Regions from separate parts of the Homo sapiens genome. Here region 1 is linked to region 2. The links are contacts of gene promoters, found by promoter capture Hi-C in blood cells and fetal thymus (Javierre and others, 2016). All regions are on one chromosome and are shown on one strand. Each heading gives the region's core, a stretch centred on a gene start or on the middle of the fragment in contact. The rest is flanking DNA. Distances are from core to core; before and after follow the strand shown.

Region 1 (3,176 bases), core at 535-3,034, 91 kb after region 2:
CACCAGTCATTGGATTTAAGGCCCATCTAATCTAGTATGACCTCATCTTAACTAATTGCATCTACAAATATCCCATTTCTAAATAAAGTCACATTCTGAGGTTCCGGGTGGACATGAATTTTGAGTGGGGGCGTGGATGCTTTTCAACCCAGTATGCACGATGAATAGTTACAGATTAGGAAGTGAATTGAGTTGATTTTATCAGATGCTGTTTCATATATACGAAGTTGTGAGTGTGTCCCAGTCAGGTTCTATTGCCTTTTGCCTTTGGTAACTTTTACTTCTGTCATCAACTAAGAGATGAAAAAGGAGAAGGATTTCTTTTCTTGTCTAAGGACAAGAATCCAAGATCCCAGGAGAAAAATAGAAGACACAAAACACAATTTGCAAGAGATAAAATGAAGTAGCTAGTAAATATGTGAAAAATATTCAATCTTAGTAATAATGCCAGTAAGGCAAATTAAACAATATGCTTTTGCTCATCCATCAAATCTATTAAAATGTTTAAAGTGAAGCTACCTAATGCTGGCTAGGTTTTGGCCAGGTGGTATCACCTATCATGAGTAGGAGTACAGTTTGGTAATAGATATCCATAGATGTTCATAAGTAGGGCATTCCAATTCTGAGAGTATATGCATTCATTCACTGAATAACTATCTATTGAGTAAACGTTTATTGACTACCAACGAGGTGCTTTAAACGTAGGGAGTTTAAAGTCTAGAAGGAGTGACAGATAGTATGCAAGCAAACGAGTTGTATTACTCCGTTTTTCACACGGCTATAAAGATACTACCCAAGACTGGGTAATTTATAAAGGAGAGAGGTTTAATTGACTCACAGTTCTGTATGGCTGGGGAGGCCTCAGGAAACTTAAAATCGTGGCAGAAGGGGAAGCAGGCACGTCTTTTGTGGTGGCAGGCGAGATAAATAGTGAATGAAAGAGGAACTTCCAAACACTTATAAAACCATCAGATCTCATGAGAACTCACTCACTATCACAAGAACAGCATGGGGGAAACCGCCCCATGATACATTCACCTCCCACCAGGTCTCTCCCTCAACACCTGGGGATTACAATTCATGGTGAGATTTGGGTGGAGACACAAAGCCTAACCATATCACAAGGGCAGCTGTAAAAAGGGTAGCCAGGGAACACCTGTCTTAAGCTCAGGAACTGAAGAGGGAGAAAGAGAGCCAGCATGTGGTGATTGGGACTGAACATTTTCAGACTGAGGGCATCACATACGTTGTAAAGACCATCACATATATATGTAAAGACCTTGAGGTGAGACCAAGCTGGGTTTGCATGAACAGAAGGGAATCCAGTATAGCTCTAGTGTAGTATGTGATGGGAACAGTGGAGATAGGAGATAAAATAGGAAGCATCAGGTCATGTAAGGAATTGTGTTGACTGTGGTAATGCCTTAAAAAATTGAATTTTATTCTAAATGCAGTGAGAAGTCAATAAAGAATAGTAAATGGAGGTGTGGCATCCACTTTATATTTTAAAACATCTAAGAGTACAATGGATTATTTTTTCCTAAAGAAGCAATTTGAAATCTAGGCAGAAATGGATCCATAAAGATGTTCTTTGCAGTGTTATTTATATTGGAGGAAAATTGGAAACAATCAGAATCCAACACTGTCAGTGTGGTTAAGATAATGATGCTACACTGATACCATGAAACTTTATTGCAGCCATTAACAGCAATGTTTACAAAGAGTTCATGGAATGAGACATCAGATAAATGTCGAAAAATCAGGATAAAGTTCTATATATAGTGTAGGATTTTCATATCACTATATACAATATGCATAGAAGACTAAAAGAAGATATGCCAAAGTCTCAACAGTAGTTATCTCTGGGTGGCGGAATGAGCAACTGTCCTTGTCTACCTTCACTGTCTACCTCCAGATGCTCTGTTATAGGCATGTATCACTGTAATAATCAGAAAAGCAAATCCAACAAAAAATACAGCATCCTCAGGTCCAACTCTCCCTGGGTCTTCCTTCATCATTACTGCTCTGCAGCAAGGACCAGCAGTCTTAGAGCCCCTTAAGTATATGAATAACCTTTACTACAGTGACGATTTCAATAACATATGCTGCTAAACTTCTCTGAGGCTTAGTATTTTTTCACGGTCGGGGTATTGAGTTTATCATTGGTAACACATCGTAAGATCAAAAGGCCTCCATTATTTCTTAGGTGAAAATTTGCACCTGTACCAAGTTAGCTTTTAAAAAGTGACTTGCCATGAACTAATTGGAAGCATAAATTTACCGTTATTTCCCTGATACCAATAAAAATTTGCAGTGAAAGCTAAATTGCTGCCACAGGAGGGAAAATGAAATGGATTTCTTTGCAGAGTTTAAATTTGTCAAAATTATGATGTGTTATATTTGGCAAATCACTCGACATTGAGAACGAAATAGCACTCCACGTCTGGTATGAAGGGTTCCACTAAAATCAGCATCAGACTACTCAGTCTTGTCTTTTTGGGTTCTTAAAGTTGTCATGTGATTTTTTTGGTCAATTACTAAGAATTATGTTTTTTAAATCGCTCTTTGAGAATGCAATTCATGTATATTTTTTATACATGCAGGAATGTGTTAATGATTATTAAACTGAATGATCTTTGCCTGTTTTTTTCCCTGCTATAGATTGTATTACTTCTTCATATGTGCCCTTGAAGCCTTTTGAAAAGAATTGCCAAAATATTACTGTGGAGGTTGAAGAGTTTGTTCCAGAAATGACAAAATATTGTTATCCATTTACTATTTACAAAAACCATCTGTATGTATATCCCCTGCAATTAAAATACGATAGCCAGAAAACATTTGCCAAGGTAACCATGTAAACTATACATTTTTGGAGTATAAAATGTTATTTATAATCTGCTAATTGTGTGACTCATTTTGACTGATTAATCATTTTAGGCAAGGAACATTGCAGTCTGTGTGGAATTCCGGGATTCAGATGAAAGTGACGCTAGTGCCCTAAAGGTTTGTTTATGATATTGATAGGCATATGTTTTTAGTAGAGATGGAGATTTTGGTACTCAGTAGTCTTATGCTCTAGGTTTAATTTGTATCAACATCAAAAAGAAAATGTTCTAAAGTGACAAATGTAATACTTTCTTTTCTACTCTTACATATTAACTATAAGGCTTAGTTTA
Region 2 (3,309 bases), core at 383-2,882:
AAAAAGTGTTATAGCTATTGTGGTGGTAACCAACAGCATGAGCCACACAGGCATTTATGGAACAGAGGGTATGAATTCTTGGAGATCAGCCTACACGCAACAATTAACAAATTTTACACGTACTGTGCAAAACTAAGATTTGTGACAGAATGTCTTTAGAGGACTTCCAGGTCCCAGGCCCTCTAGGAGCCTCCATATATGCTTTATTGAGACTGATGGGATGGCTGAAATAGGCTTACTGCGAAGAGACTTGGCCTTTTCTGGGTTCAAAGAAACCATCACCACGCATGCCCTTGTTTCCATAATAAAGTCCCCTAAAAGACTGTTTGGTCTTTGAGGGTGGGGAAAGTGCCCGATGGGTGGTGGTAGGACTGCTTTCAGAAGGGCTGCTCGGTCCCCCAGACTGAGGGCCATTTTCAAACTCTCAACAAATGAAATAACCAGATAGAAAACTGCCACCATCAGTGGAGCCTTTCACTCTGCACTTCAGGAGGTCTGACAGGGTCACTAGTACTTCAAGATTCCCGTCCCTATTTCTGTCTTAAGCATGTTCGTTTTATACCCTGTTATGAGATGTTCTTTGATTCTTGGAAAAACAATTTCTTGGAAGCTGAAAAGAGTAAGGAGATGAATAGGAAATGGAGAGGTGAGTGCAGGGCACTTGTAAAAGCTACTATAAGATTGGTAAGTCCACCAAACCCAGGGAGATGGCCTTCCTAATGCCCACCCCCACCCCACTCCTGGTGCAGTCAGTGCTGACCTAGGGATCACCTGCCACAGGCTCATCCTAATGCCCACCCCCACCCCACTCCTGGTGCAGTCAGTGCTGACCTAGGGATCACCTGCCACAGGCTCAGGCTCCACCACCCAGCTCTCCCCCGTGGGGGACGGAGCGAGGGGTGCCGCCACAATAAGTTCCCACTTCCAGAAGCATGCTCTCTCCCCAGTGTTGCCCCCTGTTAGGTGAGCCAACTGAGTAGGAAAACGGTGTGGGCGAGGAGGGGGACCCAGTCGAGCCGCTCACGCTGGAAAGCAGCTCTCTGTCCTTCGACATTGGTGCGACCCTTCCCCAAGGAGCACACAAAAGGCGGCTGCTCCACGTTGTTTTCCAGCCCCTAGCCGCCTGGGCCCTGGGGGCTTGCGGGGTGGAGGGACGTGAGAGTTCTCCAGCCCTCCTGCGGGCACTGCAGCTCGGAGGCGGGAGAGGAGCACTAGGGCGGGAGAGGAGCACGCCCCACTCTTGGAGACATTTCATCACCCCTCTCTGTTCCCCCACCCCACCCCGCCCTCCCCACTCAAGCGGAAAAAAAGAAGCAGCCCAGATCTCCCCTCCCGGATGCGGCTGCACCAGCAACATCAGCTGCGGGCGGAGCCCGAGCGGTAGCCACTTCCCCCCTCTTCCCTCGTGACCCTCGCCCCCACCTCCAGTTCTCCCTCCCCCTCTACACACCCTTCCCCATCAGACACACCCTCCTGCTTCGGCTGGTGGCGATCGGAGCTCGGGCCCTCTAGGGGAGGGAGCTGCCGCCGCCGACGCCGTGGGGCAGGACAGTGAGCGGGCGAAGCGAGCGAGAAAAGGAGGGAAGGAGGGAACGAGGGAGGAGCAGCGGGTGGGAGGTGGGAGGGAGGAGCAGCGTGAGCCGCGCCGCCGCCGAGCTGCGATGTGGCCGGCCGGCCGGCGAGTAAACAGAGGGAGCAGCAGCGGCCGCGGCCGCCGCGGGCCGGGGCAGTGAGTCCACCCGCCCGCCGAGGTCCGCCCGCCCGCCGAGACCCGCCCGCCGCCGCTGCCATGGCCGAAGTGCGCAAATTCACCAAACGGCTCAGCAAGCCTGGCACGGCGGCTGAGCTCCGGCAGAGCGTGTCTGAGGCCGTGCGGGGCTCCGTGGTGCTGGTGAGTGGCCGGGGGACGGGGCATCCCGGGGGACGCGCTCCAGGCGGGAGCGACGCGGGAAGGGGCAGGAACGGCGCCAGTGCGGCCGCTTGGTGCGCCGCGCGCTGTCTTTCTCCGCTCCAGTAAGTTTTCGCACCGGCAGCCGCCGGCCGGGGTCCGAGTCCCAGGCGCCGGCTGACAGCTCTCCGGCCGCCCGGCACGGCGGAGGCGTGCGCCGGGATGGAAGCAGACGGGCAAAAGCCGGGCTCGGACGGCTGCGGAGGAGGCGGAGGCGGAGGCTCCCACCCAGGGTCGGGGCCGGGGGTGTGAGCTAAAGAGCTGACCTCGCGCTGCTCTGGACTCGGCACAAAGAGCCGGGGACAAGGGCACGACGAGATCCTGATCCCCTCCCGCGAGCACCTGAGGCCGCCTAGGCGGAAGGATGCGATGAGCGTTTGGCACACACACTCTCGCGCGCACACATACACACACTGTGTACACAAAAAAGAACCCCACCCAGAAAGCCCCGGGCGCCCAAGCTCGGGCTGGCGGTGAGAACAGAGGAAGCAGAGCGACTTCCTCCTGCAACTGGGGAGAGAGGGTGGTGATGGGTGTTGAAGGGGTGCTGCTGCGGAGGAAGGGCATTAGAAACAACGGGGTTCTGCGACAGAGTGGGCGCAGGGTCATCCACCGCAGGGAGAGTGTGTCCCTCGGGGACACGCGAGCGCTCCAGAGGCAAGGGGACCAAGGGGACGGTGCCGTGGGGATTTGGGGGAAGACTGGGTGTGTCAGTCCAGGGATGGAGGACCTGGGGTCAGAGCCCCACAGCTCAGGACTGGGGGATGGGGATTCGAAAGCGCGCTGACTCCCTGGGAACCCTCCCAGAGCACCCTCAGCCTTATCCAGATTGTCTGACTCTGGAGAAAGGCTAAAGGGTGCTAACGGGCACTTGCCCCTTCTCTTGTTTTCAAGACACTCGTTGCCAGTTTCCTGGACAAGCGAACAAACCCTGAATAAGCAATCGGACTGATTAATTAGTGTTTGTTTTGTTACTTTGTTTTTTGGTTGTTGTTTTTGTTTGTTTTTGTCTCCCTCAGCTCCATTTTACAGCGAGTCGTTTGCTGTGTTTAAATTTCACCGTTTAAGAGAGGGCTCTTTTTGTTAAAACAACTTGTCATCGGAAGGGAACTTCACAGCTTTTCCTTGTAATTTTTCTGTTGATCTTGTAGAATCAGCAATAAAACCCAGCATTAAAGGGAGGCCAGGGGCTTGATCCCAACAGTGGAGAAAGTTGACATTAGTGGGAGTTCTGGAGGAGGATCAAAGGTAAACTATGTACCTTTGAGATAAAGATCTGATCCCTAATAGCTACAACTGTGCAAACCTAAGTGACTTTAAAGAAATCTCTTTATTGTGGCTAGACCCTTGAAAGTTTAATT

The links. Contacts are between HindIII fragments. The CHiCAGO score rates a contact against its expected background, and 5 or more counts as called.
Region 1: a fragment that was not itself captured here is called in contact with the fragment with the promoter of DOCK11 in region 2 in 12 of 17 cell types (activated CD4 T cells, non-activated CD4 T cells, megakaryocytes and 9 more); the score reaches 12.4 in activated CD4 T cells.

Annotation. Positions count from the first base shown.
Region 1 is chrX:118,585,476-118,588,651 of GRCh38, forward strand. DOCK11 (dedicator of cytokinesis 11) reads left to right here. Exons shown (of 53, transcript NM_144658.4): 17 at 2,662-2,846; 18 at 2,938-3,003. Among named protein-coding and RNA genes, the nearest start is that of DOCK11, 91 kb to the left of the region's middle. The HindIII fragment of the contact is 4,896 bases long and covers 1-3,176 here.
Region 2 is chrX:118,494,183-118,497,491 of GRCh38, forward strand. It overlaps DOCK11 (dedicator of cytokinesis 11), which reads left to right and starts at 1,633. Exons shown (of 53, transcript NM_144658.4): 1 at 1,633-1,891. The coding sequence starts at 1,790. RefSeq lists enhancers at 971-1,040, 1,443-2,421 and silencers at 1,451-1,590, 1,701-1,780, 1,871-1,930, 2,101-2,160. The HindIII fragment of the contact is 5,195 bases long and covers 1-3,309 here.